5 separate regions of the Homo sapiens genome follow, and regions 1, 2, 3 and 5 are each linked to region 4. Evidence: promoter capture Hi-C in human tissues and cell types (Jung and others, 2019). All regions are on one chromosome and are shown on one strand. Each heading gives the region's core, a stretch centred on a gene start or on the middle of the fragment in contact. The rest is flanking DNA. Distances are from core to core; before and after follow the strand shown.

What was found. Contacts are between HindIII fragments. The study calls those that stand out against the background at their distance.
Region 1: a fragment that was not itself captured here is called in contact with the fragment with the promoter of NECAB1 in region 4 in 3 of the 25 tissues and cell types used here (dorsolateral prefrontal cortex, hippocampus and liver).
Region 2: a fragment that was not itself captured here is called in contact with the fragment with the promoter of NECAB1 in region 4 in 2 of the 25 tissues and cell types used here (mesendoderm cells and thymus).
Region 3: a fragment that was not itself captured here is called in contact with the fragment with the promoter of NECAB1 in region 4 in 6 of the 25 tissues and cell types used here (H1 embryonic stem cells, dorsolateral prefrontal cortex, heart left ventricle and 3 more).
Region 5: a fragment that was not itself captured here is called in contact with the fragment with the promoter of NECAB1 in region 4 in 2 of the 25 tissues and cell types used here (aorta and spleen).

The regions. Positions count from the first base shown.
Region 1 is chr8:90,933,121-90,936,189 of GRCh38, reverse strand. NECAB1 (N-terminal EF-hand calcium binding protein 1) reads right to left here. Exons shown (of 13, transcript NM_022351.5): 9 at 1,833-1,886. All of the region lies in intron 1 of LOC105375634 (a long non-coding RNA gene), which reads left to right. Among named protein-coding and RNA genes, the nearest start is that of C8orf88, 51 kb to the left of the region's middle. The HindIII fragment of the contact is 3,943 bases long and covers 1-3,069 here.
Region 2 is chr8:90,637,402-90,640,568 of GRCh38, reverse strand. The region is part of intron 1 of TMEM64 (transmembrane protein 64); the gene reads left to right. Among named protein-coding and RNA genes, the nearest start is that of TMEM64, 7.1 kb to the left of the region's middle. The HindIII fragment of the contact is 3,462 bases long and covers 1-2,990 here.
Region 3 is chr8:90,951,345-90,954,413 of GRCh38, reverse strand. The region is part of intron 12 of NECAB1 (N-terminal EF-hand calcium binding protein 1); the gene reads right to left. It also overlaps a transcript of LOC105375634 not described here. Among named protein-coding and RNA genes, the nearest start is that of C8orf88, 32 kb to the left of the region's middle. The HindIII fragment of the contact is 5,493 bases long and covers 1-3,069 here.
Region 4 is chr8:90,790,187-90,793,552 of GRCh38, reverse strand. NECAB1 (N-terminal EF-hand calcium binding protein 1) reads right to left here and starts at 1,778. Exons shown (of 13, transcript NM_022351.5): 1 at 1,568-1,778. The coding sequence starts at 1,666. LOC105375633 (a long non-coding RNA gene) reads left to right here and starts at 1,385. Exons shown (of 4, transcript XR_928389.4): 1 at 1,385-2,115. The HindIII fragment of the contact is 16,269 bases long and covers 1-3,366 here.
Region 5 is chr8:90,567,157-90,570,187 of GRCh38, reverse strand. No RefSeq gene overlaps it. Among named protein-coding and RNA genes, the nearest start is that of LINC01030, 37 kb to the left of the region's middle. RefSeq lists an enhancer at 589-1,090. The HindIII fragment of the contact is 3,391 bases long and covers 9-3,031 here.

The sequences.
Region 1 (3,069 bases), core at 57-2,556, 140 kb before region 4:
ACATGGTAGGATGGAATTATGAGCACTAGAGCACTAGCTATGAAATAACAGTGAAAAATGATTTTGGTCATTCTGAATATAGGAGGTTTTACAGGAATTTATAGTAATGCACTTACTACCATTAATTAAAAAAACAACTTTTAATGACAAATATCTTATTGTTACTTCTGAAAAAACAAACCAATTCAAATTTTTATGTCTATTCCCAAAGAGCATAATTGCTATACCTCTATATATGGCTGGAAATAGGGAATATCCTTTTCTGCTTTTAAACAATATTGAGAGCTGAATGACCTTCTTCAGTCTTATTTGTTTAAAGTACTTCTATGCACTACTGAATTAGTAATGTTTTGTGTGTTGATCTTTTAAAATTGGCCTTGGCTTTGGCTGCTCAGGGACCTGCAAATGGAATAGCTGCCTCCTTTCACAAACAATCCTTAGACAATTTTTCCTCTTCATAACTAGAGAGAAAAAATAATCTCACATTAGAAAATTATTTAAGAATAGGCAATTATCTCTCACAACATTAGATAAGTTATATTTGTTTTTCCTTTGTCTGGAGTATAGTTTTTCCTCTATGCAAACCTACGAGAAGATAACAGATGCATGATCACAAGGTTAACAATTCCTGTGCCTCCGGGACTGCACAAATCCGCTATTCTTAGTATGTATATGTGCTCAACACCCCTCTCCTCTCTTTCCCATGAAAGTCTACCATTTTAAAATGTTGGGGTCTTGAGGAATTAACACAGACTACATCCCTGTCTCTGGAGGGATAAAAGCACTAGACATGCAGTGACAAATCTAGCTTATCGGGGTAAAGTATTCATAACTATAGGATTCTAACAGTAGCAGCCATGATTAAACTTTTCTGAGACTCCCACAAAGCTTCCTCTGAAGAATCCCTTTGGATTATGAGTTTGGACAGATGGGCAGGAGCCTTACACATAGGTGGGTCTCAACTTCATCTATCATGTAGTCAGTGCTTGTGCACAATTCAGAGATGAAAGGTTATTTCCTACCTTGGTTTCATATAAATGTGTGACCAATCCTTTGACATCTATAAAGTATATAATACATCTAAGGGATTAAAAAATGATTTTTCTCCTAGTTACCCAAGATTTTAAAATCCAAATTTTCACTAAATGTAAATATAAACATCCAACTTCCTGAAACAAAATGTACTATGCATGTTTGCCTCAACATAAAGTAAATAATAAAGCTTGGTATGTACTGCTTTTAATTATTTGCTAACTTCTTTTTGTTGCATCTTAATGTACTTTTTAGGATCCCTTTGTCCATTCTTCTTCTGTTTCCAAAAACTGCTGCCACTCTGGATGGACATCTTGTCCCTAGGGATACAAATGTTCCCTTTTGCATCAATTTATTCTTTGAAAAATTATTTCTGAGCATTTTCAATGTGCCTGGCCCTAGGCTAAATGCTGGAAATATAATAATGAACAGAACCAGGTTTCCGCTCAGGTATATCCAGTGTACAACATAGCAGGATTTACAAAATGTTTATGATACAACTTAAATGTTGCCCTTCTCTGCCAGTCATATTCCTTCAATTATTCAATAACTCATTGATTTATACATGTATAAAATTTTCATTTTGCACCTATTACATGCCAGGTACTTTTGCAAAAACTGTGAAGTAGGTATTAGGTTTACACAAATCACAATGTAGAAACAACACTACTGAATCTTATAAAATGAAATACGACTACTTGGTTTTTCAATTTTTCATTGAGATAACTAATTTTTGAAGAAATTAAATTATGTTTTTAAAGAATATATTTCTAACATTTTTACCTGATAAAAATACTTACAGATTTAGTATTCCCTTCAATAATTTCTTCTTCTGGTGGTTCGAGTTTGAGATCCTTCAATAAGAGGAAGAAATGGCAGAAAAGAAAAAAAATTATATCATTTAAAACAATGCCATATATTCAAATCATAGTTCTCTCATGGCTAACATTGAACCAAAAGAACTTCATTATCTTAAAGATGAAATAATACTGATTTTTTTAAAACTCAGCTGTTCCAATAAAGACTCTTTGTACTTATTTATCAATTGTAAGAAGCTGTTTTAGACGTGTTCAAAGTATTGCTTTAAATTTACTTCTTGAATGCCATTAGAGAGCAAAGTGGAAGAGAAAGGTACATTAAAACAGAGAGGGAAAGGGTAGGAAGGTAAACGAAAGAAAAGGAAACAGAATGACTAAGCCTAACAGTCTGCTTTATTTTGCTATGAATGAGTATTGCCACATTTCTACATTTCTTGGGACATCATTATAAACATTAGTCTATTGTTACAATACATTTATACCCTGGTGTTAATTTTTCTTTATTAAATAGAAAGTGAATTAAAGAGTAAATGAAAATACGATTGACATTTGCTAAAAGTGAAGAACTCCTATAAAGACCGTGAAGTCTTAAAAAAAAGTTTTTTTTTTTATTTCCATAGGTTTTTGGGGAACAGGTGGTATTTGCTTGTACAGGTAAGTTCTTGAGTGGTGATTTGTGAGATGTTGGTGCACCCGTCACCTGAACAGTATACACTGAACCCGATTTGTAGTCTTTTATCCCTCATCTCCCTACCACCCTTTTCTCCTGAGTCCCCAAAGTCTACTGTGTCATTCTTATGCCTTTGCATCCTCATAGCTTAGCTCCCACTTATGAGTGAGAATATAGAATGGTTGGTTGTCCATTCCTGAGTTACTTCACTTGGAATAATAGTCTCCAGTCCCATCCAGGTTGCTACAAATGCCATTAATTCATTCCTTTTTATGGCTGAGTAGTATTCCATCGTACATACACACCATAATTTCTTTATCCACTCATTGATTGGCGGGCATTTGGGTTGGTTCCACATTTTTGCAACTGAAAATTGTGCTGCTATAAACATGTGTGTGCAAGTTCTTTTTTGTATAATGACTTCTTTTCCTCTGGGTAGATACCCAGTAGTGGAATTGCTGGATCAAATGGTAGTTCTACTTCTAGTTCTTTAAGGAATCTCCACACTATTTTCCATAGTGGTTGTACTTGTTTACATTCCCACCAGCA
Region 2 (3,167 bases), core at 10-2,509, 150 kb after region 4:
TTAGCTCCTTTGTAGCCCTGGCGAAGTGATTTAATGATTCTGGCCTTCAGTTTTCCTTATTTGTAAAATGAGAGGGTACAGATGAGGTCAGAGTTTGCTTTTAAAAAGACAAATGTTCTGAGCAACAGTGTAACATTACCTTTTATTTTTTAACAGTTTAGTGATAGTATGTGTTATAAAAATACACATTTTCTCATTTTCTTGAGTTCTTATTCTGTAATATGTTTTCTTATTTTCTTAATTCTTATTCTGTGCTGTAGATAGAGCCATAGATTCAAAAAAAGATATGATCGGTCATAATACTTGTCACTGTATCAGTGTATCTAATGATGATTTCTTCTTACTATTAAAGTGTAATGATTCGCTGCCAGTGGTACAGTTCAGGCAAAATAGAAAGGCAGACACAGTCTGTGTTTTGAAAGAGTTGGAGTCTGGCCCTTAAGGGTCAGATAGGATGAACAAGTTGTGTAATGTCATCTCAGTGCACATCCTGAGACCTCACAATACCACTGAATGCAGTTGACCTTTATTTCCTTGAAACTGTTTTCCCCTCTTTGTGTCTCTTTAGTTATCTCATCAGCTTCTGCAGTTTTTGTGTCATATGTAGGCTTACAATTCACTAATCTATATCTCTAGCCTGTTATATTAATGTATATAGAGTATGTTTTATTAACCCTTCCTAGATTAAAAAAAATTTGTTTAAAAGCAACGAGGTTATTAAAACATGTTTTAACAATGTTTGTTTTTTCTGTCTGTATGTATTCATTGTAAAAACTTTGAAAAGTATAGCAAGTACAAAGAAAAACATCATTAACATTTTCGTGTTTATTTTTCTCTTTGCATTTTATTGATATGTATTTTAATATAATATTGAGTTAATGATTTTTGTGACCTTCTTTTACTTGAAGTAATGAACATCTTGTTATTACGTGTATTACAACATGACTTTTAATGACTGCACAGTCAGCTGTAGTTTTCCATCTTTGTATCTTTTTTATTCTGCTTAGAACTGGGTCTTAGATATATATAGAAGGCATATGATACATGTTTTAGTACAAATAATAAACCTATAGTATGTCAGACTGTATGAAGAAAAGCTTTTCAACTTGTGTTCCAGAAATTATGTACAATAAGATATACATTTTTCCCCCCTTGAGAGAAGATTCAAGGCCTCTGTGTGTATGTGGGTGGGAGGGTGGAAGGGGGGTTACACCAGATTCTCAAATAAATTGGTGACCTCTCCCTAAGATATTTGGGAACCATTAAAAGCAGTTCCTAATTTAGGGACAGTGAAGTCATGAAAAAGCTTGCATATGTGAAGATGCTTCTGTGTTGTAGACAGACATTGACCTAACCATTTCTGTCAGTAGAAATCTCTTTACCCTGAAGCCCTCTCTAGCTGTTAGGGTAGGGTCTCAGCACTGCTGCGGCCTTCTTGTTCTTTTTTTTTTTTTTCCTCCAGTAGCAAGACTTTTTTCAGTACTCTCAGGGTTGCTTGAGAGACCCTAACCAGAGGGTCTTAGCCTTGACATTAGGTTCACCATGGCGGTTTCTGGAAATATTTTTAGTATTCATTCAGTAAATAATTGGTAGGTGCCTAGTATGTGCCTGCTGCTGTTTTAAATGCTGGAGGTGTAGCCGTGAATAAAAGAAAGTCTCTCCCTTGAGGTGGTAGCATTCCAGTGGAGAAATAGCATTCTAGGTAAATCATGGTGTAAGTTTTGCTGATAATAAGCTAATTTTCATTTATAACATTTTTTCTGTGTGTTTGGCAGAGTGTTCTTAATTTCTGAAAATCCGATTAAAAATGGACATTGCATTCCAACTTGTTTATAAACTGGCAACTATTCTAGGTTTCCATATTTATAAATAAAGCATTATTGGTGTTGATACATCCAACCTCCAATAAACATATATTTAGCAACTAATATATAGTAGGCATTTGTTAAGATCTAGGGACACAATGAGGACCAAGAACGACAGATCCCTTTCCTCACAGAATTTATAGTCTGGGAAAGGACTGAGGGGCAAACAAATGGTGAAACCTTCAGTTGTTCTCCAGTGCAAAGGGGACAGGGAAGTATAGTGTTCTGTCAGAGCACTTGAAAGCACTTAACAAAGACTTGGGGCATCTGGGAAGGTTTCCTAGAGTAATTGATGACTGAGTAGTGAAAGACAGTGTAGGAGTTTTCGGAGTAAATGGAGTGGGAAGAAGGATGTGCTTGTTGTACTCCCCAGAAGGAACAACGTAGAAAGGCCCAGAGGGAAAGGGGAGCAAGTAGTGTTCTAGGAACTGAGAAAATTTTGATGTGACTGGGACATAGTGTGACAGGGTGCATGAAATGCTCAGAGGCCAGATCATGAAGCACTTTGCACTCTGAAGAACCTCATGGCAGTAGGAGGGAGTTTAAGCAGGATTAGGCTCACTTTTTAAAAAGATTTCTGCAGGGTTACCATAGGTAGTGAGTGGGGGTAGTCTGTGTAGTCAGGACCAAAGAGGAGACTGAATTAGAAATAGGCCCAGACGGTGGATAGATTTCCCCAGAGAAGGTGCGGTTGACAAGATGTAGTAGATATTGAATGTGGGAAATAAGGAATTAGCTATGTGCCTGACTGATGAGGTCTCCAGCTAGGGCCGCTGAGATTGGGAACACAGAAAAGATGAAGAGGTATTTTGGGGAGCAAAGGAAAGAGAATAGGTAGTTAATGTTTTTCTTGAAACTGATTTTTAAAGTTTTGATTTTCTGAGAGTGAAAAATAGTTGCCGCTTCTGAATTCTTTTTCTCTGTTCCCCAATTTTTCTGAAATATTAATAGGAAGTATTTTGGGGATATGTACAGTAAAATTATCAGTAAATATTAATTAGATGAAAAGACCAAACTGGTCATTTTAATTTCTCTTGACCAATCCTTTCTTAACAGTCATAGGGATTCATGATTTTTTTCTATAGGGATTCATGATTTTTTCATATATAATATAATTAAATGTATTTTAATTGGAATTTATAATATTTTAACAGTAACTTTGTTAATAAGCAGCATCCCAAATACCAAGCAACAAGTCTATACAGGAAGGTATAATTTGCCAAAATTAATGCTAGATTCACAGAGCTGCACATAAAATTTGAGGTCTTCTGAATACTGGTCACCTTTATATTTTTTATTACA
Region 3 (3,069 bases), core at 390-2,889, 160 kb before region 4:
TGGTTTGGGCTGCCATATTCCAGTATGCTTCATTTGAATGATTTTATACTTGAGAGGTCATTGGAATATATTATAGTGTATATTTTCATATCTGGATGCAATCTGGCTTAGTTGCTTAATTACTTTAGATGTATCTTAGGTAAACCACTTAGTAGTCTTAACCATAAAAAGCAATCTTACCAGAAATCATAATTTGTGAGTAAAATTAGAAATACAAACTTATTCATACTGCATTTTTAAATGTAATATCTGCTTTTTTTCTTTCAGATTTTAATTTTAGGTATAAATATGTGCAGCTATTTATTTATTTATTTATTTATTTATTTATTTATTTATTTATTTATTTTGAGACAGTCTCGTTCTGTCACCCAGGCTGGAGTGCACTGGCACGAACTCAGTTCACTGCAACCTCTGCCTCCCAGGTTCAAGTGAGTCTCCTGCATCAGCCTACCAAGTAGCTGGGATTACAGGTATGCACCACCATGCCTGGCTAATTTTTTGTATTTTTTAGTAAAGAGAGGATTTCACCATATTGGCCACTGGTCTCGATCTCCTGTCCTCAGGTCATCTGCCCACCTTCGCCTCCCAAAGTGCTGGGATTACAGGCGTGAGCCATAGCGCCCAGCTAATTATTTTTATTTTTAATCTTCATAACCATTATAACACAAAATGTACAAAACTGGTTTTTAAAAATAGTGTTAGAAGTTATATGGCCATTAAAACCCATAAATAATATTTATATGCTAGCTTCTGCTTACTGGAATAGGCCTGCTGTCACAGTGATAAAACTTTAAAATAAGGTGGGATGTCCCAATAAATGTCAAAATGTTGTAGGTTTTAAAATTGTGTCAAAAATCAAGCCTAACTTTTCCTCTTGTTCTACGAAATTCCAGTAATCATTGTTGAAATTAAATGTAACATGAAATTAATACAAAATAGGGCAGCAATTAAAAGACATTAAATTGTATTGAGCCTGGATTCACAGAACAAGAATTGATCCAGTTTTATCTGTAGTCAGTTTTTCTTTCTAAATTAGGAAATGCTCTGAGAGAGAAAGAGTAATATATGTGCCAATGACACTAGTAGTGTCTAGAAAATAATTCCAGATAATGATAAAGTTGGGTCAGAAAACTATCAGATTAGTCCACATTTTCAATTCTTGCTATAGCATTTTCCCCCTCACTGATAATTCAGTAGCCTCCTGTTCTATCCTCTTTTCCTACTCTATTTTTGATCAGGTTGTTTCTGTCCTGGAAAGACTCAAGACACTAATAAGAACAAGCTTTGTTCCTTTCTTTCCACATTGGTTTGGGAGAGATGGAAATGGGTGTGATGACAGACACAAAAATTACAAGTGTCAGGACTTCGTGGAAATTTTGACCGAAGACCAATATATTTATGATGATGCCAAAGTCCTATTCATTCCTTCATTTAGGAAATAATTTCTTCTTGCCATATACTGTACTATAGTAATACTGTAATAGGGTAGGGAATGTGAAGATAAATAAAATGTGGATCTCACTTTCCTGCATTCTATGTACAAAGCTTGCAGCAGTCATATTTACAGAAGTTGTATTCTAAGATTTTTCTCCCTATTTTATTTTATTTTATTTTAATTTTATTATTATTGTTTTTTGACATGGAGTCTCGCTCTGTCGCCCAGTCTGGAGTGCAGTGGTGCGATCTTGGCTCACTGCAACCCTCCGCCTCCTGGGTTCAAGCAATTCTCCTGCCTCAGCCTCCTGAGCAGCTAGGATTACAGGCATGCCCCACCATGCCCAGCTACTTTTTGTATTTTTAGTAGAGGTGGGGTTTCACCATGTTGGTCAGGCTGGTTTCGAGCTCCTGGCCTTGTGATCCGCCCACCTCAGCCTCCCAAAGTGCTGGGATTACAGGCGTGAGCCACCGCGCCCAGCCTTCCTCCCATTTATAACATCATAACACTATACATCCCCCACTCATCCCCAGGAGCACTGTATCTTTGCATTTTACTCTTTTGGTTTCCTTGATACTCCACTGCTTAAAGAAAGGCATCTCCCCAAGCTTCTCTTAGATATTTTGTTCTTACCTACATACTTTCTTACCAATCCCAGGCTTCAACAATCATCTTGCTGTGGTTAACTCCTGAAAATTACATCTGCAACTGGAGTCCCAAACTCTGGCTATTTCCTGGTGCAGGTTTTTTTTTTTTTCTTCCCTGGCCTAGATTATTGCCCTAATTGGTTAATCTCTCTCCTCTCCATGACATCCACCTTTCTCCCTCCTGTCAGTTATTACTGATTAGAACATGTCACCATCCCTTTCAAAACTTTAAATTACTCCAGGTTGCTGTTCAAAAGCCTCATTATGACATTCTCAACCTCACTTCTTACTCTCTCGTCTGTCTCCACTTGTACTGTAAGTTTTATGCCTTAGTGACACCTTTGCACCTATAAAGCACATTCACACTTCTTGCATTTGTTCATGTCCAAATTTACCAAAGGACCCTTCCTCTCCATCTTTACTTTTCCACATCTCATCTTTTAAGGACTAGCTCAAGTCATTTTCTTAAAAACTATTAAAGAAGTAATCACTTCTCCAAGTCCACAAAACACATATTATCTCTAATGGTGACAGCTATTTTATTCCCTTAGCTGGGTTTTTTTTTTCTGCTAAAATTTGTCTTTGCAAACGTTTCTGTGAAGCTGGACAGAAAGCACTTTATGGGTAGGGATTTTGCCTTTAGTTTGTACCCTTTGTAGCTCCCAACACAGTGCTTGTTCAGAAATGGAGCTCAATCAGTACCAGTAAATTAGGCTAAACACCCTGATGCCTAGCACATATTAATACTCAGTAAATATATATTTAATCAGTAATTGGATGGGTAGATGAACAAATTGTATCCAGTACACTAAATTACAATATGATAAAATATTTGAATAATTTTTTGAAATATGATTTGGTGGTACTTCAAGTTTGTTAATATGATTAGCAAATGACTAATGGTTCAGTATAGCTGGGAATACAAATAGGGTCAACTAAGGACAAAATAGAACAAATATATAGATCTTTTATTTCTTCCCCCCAATC
Region 4 (3,366 bases), core at 529-3,028:
TGAACAGCAAAACTTGAATAAGATCAGCCCGTTAAGCCATGAGCACCAATAATACCATCTGACTGACCCAAGCCAGGCAGAGATAAATGCTCATGAAGGATAAGGTACTTAACCACCTGATTGGGTGGCTGAATAGGAATGACCACACCTGAGATTTGGTGGGAAGGAGATGACCAGCCCAGAATGCCTGGATCACCAATTGGAGCCACCAGGTGATAAAGGGTGAAGGCTGCCAGTACACACAGTTGAACCTCACTTCTATCATTTGCCTTACAACAGTTTGAATTATTGATAGGAGTTTCTTTCCCTAGAATTAAAAAGAATTCTAGCCAATCCATTCAAAATAAACTTGGGAGAGCGCCTCACATCCTCCTATCCTCTTTATCTCTGCCTCACCATTATGATACTAATTGATTTCCTCATATTTTCATCTCTCCACAAACAAATGTATCTGGCTTCTGGCCCATCTCCCACTCATTTTGACTTTAATAAGAAAAGATAACTCAGAGAAGGGTAAAGGACAGAGCACGTAGCACTCCTCCATGTCCTTTGACATTTTCTATCATGCCTAAACAAGAAGCAGACAGAATTGTCCCCACTGAGATAGACACGACCTCCGGCAACAGCATGAATGTGACAACTGAGGGGCTGGGAGAGCCTGGAGCCCGGCAAGCAGCTGAGAGAAACCCCAAAGCAGAGAGAAGAGATAGGCAACAGACGGAAAAATAGAGAAAACAGAAACAGCAGGCAGGAGAGGAAAACAAAATTGAGAAATAAATAAGAAATAAAAGTGCTGTAAAGATAGAAACCACACCATACGGGAAAAAGAAACAGCACAGAAGGAAAAGAAAGGATGTAATCAGATCAGAGTAATGAAGGCAGGCAGTCGATACCGAAGTGAGAAATTGGACCAAAGGGAAAATAGTCAAAAGCTAGAATTCATGGAGGTGACAGTAGTAATTAGAACTTGGAGAGAAGGAGAATATCAGGGAAGAAAAAGGGAAAATAGAAGAGGTGGCAGTGACAAAAAGAATCATTATGAAAATGATATTTCCCACCGCTGTAAAAAGAAAAACAAATATGCTCAAAGTAATTGTTTTCCGAGGGGGTCTGGGGGAGGATAACGAGGGCATCTCAATCGCTGCTGCTTCCCTGGCTGGGTTGCTTGAGAGCATCCACGAGTGTGAAGGCTGCGAATAGGGCGCGTTAGAGAGATGAGTTGGGACACTGTCCCCACCTCACCCCCCACACCTTGTGCCTCTTTAAAATGTCCTATGCACTCAAATGTTGTCTGTTGTATTTGCAATAGTGTCTCTACGAAACCCAGCCTGTTGGAAAATCTAACTTTTGCAGTTTTCTTAAGGGTGTTAAGCCACAAGCTGCAGGTCTGGGACAGCCCTAGCTGCAAGTTAAGGGACAGTCGTTCCTCCTGCATTTGCATCGGTAGTTCTCGCCTGTGTTCTGGGGACAAAGCATTGGCTGGTCAGCACCTGAGCCGAACCCCTTCCTTTCGGGGAAAAGAAAGGTGCTGGGAAGCAACCGCCCAGCTCCCACCATCTGTACTTACGTCGAGGAAGATCGACATGCCCTTGGACAGGTGCAGAGCAGAGCTGAGCTCCTCCGAGGAGTTGTTGGAGGACGGCGATGTCTCCTGGGAATCTTCCATCCTCGGGAGCCCTGACGGCCTCAGGCGGAGCGGGGCTAGGCGGACGCACCGGCTCTGGCAAGGGCGCGGCCGCAGCTGCTGCTTCGCCGCCGCCGGGCTCTGGATCCGGGAGGGTGTTCGCTCCCGCGCGCGCCTCCCTCCGCGCTCTCCGCGCTCTCCGCGCTCGGTGTCCCCCCCTCCCTCCTCCGGCCTCTGCGCTCCCACGCGCTCCAACTCTCGCCTCCTCCTTCCCGTAGTTGACGGCGTCTGGATCCATGTCATCCCCGCACGTAGCAACGCGCGGAGGGGAGCGGGCTCTGCCCCCGGCACGGCCATCGGCCACGGCTGGAGATAGCCTGGGGACCCCTACCAGCCCCACGACGGCCCCAAGTGCAGGGATGGAGGAGGGCGTCCGGACAGAGAGAAGGGACGAATGGCAGGGCGTTTGTCCTGAGCAGCCAAAGCGCAAGGTAAGGACGCCCCCAGCCTCACCTGAGTGGATGCCATAAATAGGGAGGAACTCAGAGAGGTTCTACCTACTCTGCTTTTGGTCCCAGTGGCCTGTCTGCCCGACCTTCCCCAAAGGCGGGGGCAGGGTTCACGAATACCAGCAATCGAGGAGCAGCTGGTTTGGTGTAGGGATTAAGCCATTCGGTGTTATCTTGCGCTCGAAGGACTTAACCTGTAAGCCTCACTTTTCCTCATCAGTAAAATGGTTACACCGGTCTCACCCCAGAGGGTTCTGAGGCTTACCTATGGCAGTGCTGCTGACAAAGGCGGTGCTATGAACTCTGCCTAGAGTAGGCTTCGAAACGTTTGCTATGGGGCAAGGATTGTTAGGTAATGTTCAAATATGAAGTTTCCCAAAGTCACAAGACGAAGTCCTTATCTGTGTTTAAGCATTTAAACCAGGGTAATTATTCAATATTTGACGGCTTCTGCGAAGGCTGTAAAAATAGGAAACTGACCACACCTTTCATCAGGAGAGAGATCCAGTTTATTGGGCATCTAAAATGTGTATGTGTTGGTTACAAACTTGAGCTATCTGGGAGCGAGATAAGGCAAAAAAGAGGGAACCTTGTCTAAACAAGACTCTGCCTCTACCAGTGAGAACGGGTGAGGAGGATCCAGATCTCCATTTTGTGGCCTTTGGAGAAAAGTAAACATATTCTTCCTATAAGACAGGCCCACACACAACCAAAATGCTGATCAACATGTGAGTGTCTTAAAGGCATGTAAAACATGCTAGGGGTTTCTCAGGAGAGACAGGTTACACTCTGGCTGGGGGGACCAATAAAAGCTTGATGAAAGAAGCGGTATATGAAATGGACCTTAAAAATCAGTGGATACTCCATGCTTGATAGAAATAGAAGGAAAACACTTCCAGGCAGAAGGAACAGCGTAAGCAAAGCATGGCACCAGGAAAGCACGTGGAAGCTGGAAGTAGTCCACTGGGGATTCCTATAAACATACAGAATCCCAGATCCTACCTGGGCTTTCCAAATCCCAATACTAAAGTACTGTCTAGTCCAGAAATCCAAGTCCCCCTCACCCTAATGATTCATACACAGTTGCTATGTAGTAGGCTCAGGACTAGGGTGTGGCAAGTGGGGCCACTTGAGCACAGAATGTAAGGAGGCACTTGCTCTCAATCTCTATCCTGTGCTTGCATGATCCTGAGAATGATTTTCTTAAATTTTGCACCCTAGGTGTCTTGTTCA
Region 5 (3,031 bases), core at 455-2,954, 220 kb after region 4:
TCTTTTTGTCATTGAATTTTCCTAAAACTTAATAATTTGATATTTCAAAATCTCTACCATAGGGTAGAGATTTTGTTTGCCTTATTTATTGTGATATCCTCAACATCTATTAGAATGCCTGCCCAGTAAAAATTGTTGAACAAATGAATTACGCACTGGAGGACATACTGAAATCTTCTGGTAAAGCTTCATGTGTTTTTTTTTTGTTTTTTGTTTTTTGTTTTTTTTTTTGAGACGGAGTCTCACTCTGTTACCCAGGCTGGAGTGCAGTGGCATGATCTCGGCTCACTGCAACCTCCACCTTCTGGGCTCAGGCAATTCTCCTCTCTCTGCCTCCTGAGTAGCTGGGATTACAGGCATGTGCCACCACACCCGGCTAATTTTTTGTATTTTTAGTAGAGATGGAGTTTCACCATGTTAGCCTGGCTGGTCTTGAACTCTTGGCTTCAGGGGATCCACCCACCTTGGCCTCCCAAAGTGCTGGGATTACAGTCGTGAGCCACCATGCCTGGCCACCTCATGTGTCATTGATTCTGCAGCAGCCTTGGTAGGATTTTAATCTCCACTGTCATCAGTATTTTCAAAGTCAGAAAAGATATATTTGCTGATGGCAGAATTTCACTGGCACAGAATAGGAAGAGAGTTTCTCTCTCTCTCTTTCTCTCTCTCTCTCTCTGTGTGTGTGTTTTGGGATCAATAGTGTAGTGCAGGCAAAAATTTACCTCTGCCCTTCTAGGGTCTCTGCTGGGCTTGAGAATTAAATTGACGTAAGATAAATTAACAAGAGAAAAGCGTATAAATTTAACATATTTTACATGACACAGGAGCCCTCATGAGAAAATGAAGATAAAAAAAAAAGCAAGGCTTACATGATTTTGTAAAGAGGCAATTGTGGAAAAGTATCTAAATTTTGTGGGGAGGCCAAAGGGAGATAATTCTTTTAACAAGGTCTGTTTATACGGAATTATCTCGGCTATGAGTCTTCATGGAAGAATGTTTCTTTTCTCTTGGCACAGGGAGGGCATCTTCCACATGATAGTTTTTATCTCCTACCTTCAGGGAAAAGAAAGGGAAGATTAGAATACATGTAATCTTCTTGAATCTGCTCTTTTTCAAGTGCCTCTGGCTTGAAGTGATCCTTATGTCAAAGTGGCATATTTGGGGGTGGCATAGCCTGCCACCCTTCAGTAGTGTGACTCAAAGCTGAGTCAGAAAAGTGCATGGTATTTTGAGGGGTAGGGAGCAAACCTTTGTTGTCAGGTAACCCTATAAGCACAGCATGGGGAAAGGGTCTGTCTCCTAGTCTTGCTAGTTCTCCCAAGAGGCATCTTAAGTTGTGCAGAACTCTCAGAATTCTCATATGACCCTTTTGAAAATCAGCAGAGGCCTCTATCAGAATCAGTGAAAGCAGGTGTGCTTTCTAGACCTTAGAGAGACATGGAAGATGCCAGGATCAGGTCCTGGAGAATTTCTGTTTCAAAATGTGCAGTCTCTAGTTTTTTTTCCAAATGAGCTTGAGTTGGAATCTCAATAAGTGGATCCACGTGCCAGTCAAACAAACCAGGTAAAAGTGATTCAGATGGGAAATCTTCTGGGTAAGAAAACTGAATAAGGAATAAAAGAATTTACCCCAGGCAAAACTGACATTATGTTCATTCTTTAAAGGCTCACATATAAACAGCGATTAACAGAGATCCCACAATGCTGGACACTGTGAGAGAAAGATTTACTTTTAGTAGAAATGCACTTACATTTCTTGTTATGCTTGGAAGCAGGGCAGCTAATTCATCCTTAGGAAAATCAAAGAAACATTTGGGAGGAAGGAAACATTGACAGTACCACCAACTGACCCCTTTAAGAACTATCTATAGTTATCTATAATTAGTCAATAAATGATCAGAAACATGTGAGTTCTTTCTTATTTGGTTGAGGAATGTGGCCTTGAGAGCACAGAAAAGCCCTAACATTTAAGTGTGTGAGCAACATGGGAAGAAGGCAAAATGGCCAGTGACCAGGACAGAAAAGACAAACTTATGCAATGGCATGATTTTACATAACCTGGGTTCTCCTAGTACATGGCAGGGATTAAGTTACCAGGTTCACACAAGCTCCACCTGGGATACCAGTCCCGATTAATTTTTCATGGCTTCCTGCAGCACAGCATTGAGATATAAGATGATAAAGATTTCAGCTGTGTAAGAGACTGTGGACAACGTGTTAATGTCTGTCTGGAATAAGGGAGGGGGAGTGTTGATGCAGTGTTTGCCAGTGCTGAATGGAAGCTTGGTGGAGCTTTTTTGTCATGAATGAATTAGAAGCACAACTTGCAAAGTTTGCTTTTACAAGTATTGAATACGGACAACTTATTTTTTACCACATATTTTACTTCTTGTACATTAATCTTTTTTTTTTTTTGTTGTTGTTGTTTTGAAATGGAGTCTCGCTGTGTTGCCCAGGCTGGAGTGCAGAGGCACGACTTTGGCTCATGCAACCTCCACCTCCTGGGTTCAAGCAATTCTCCTGCCTCAGCCTCCCAAGTAGCTGGGATTACAGGCACCCACTACCAAACCTGGCTAATGTTTGTATTTTTAGTAGAGATGTGGTTTCACCATGCTGGCCAGGCTGGTCTCGAGCTCCTGACCTCAGGTGATCCACCTGACTAGGCCTCCCAAAGTGCTGGGATTACAAGCGTGAGCCACTGCACTCAGCCACATTAATCTTAAAGTTTCAGCAAAGCAGATATGACGTGCTTGGTTTCCCTCATTAAAAAGCTCAGGAAGATATTAAAACCCTGTAAAACTATCCTTTGCGGGCTTTGTGTACTGAATTGAGGTAGTGAATGCATTTTTCTTCTCATTACTCAAGGAAAACCTCACTATTTGGTGGCAGTTACGACAAGTGTATTCCCCAGAAGCTATAGCACATTAACTGGGTGACCAAGGTTAGAATGTTCACCAACGGCAGCCCCTGTGCTGCTTCACTTGTTCTGCAAATTCAGTCTCTGGAGATCCCCATATTAAGCTTTCTCCGA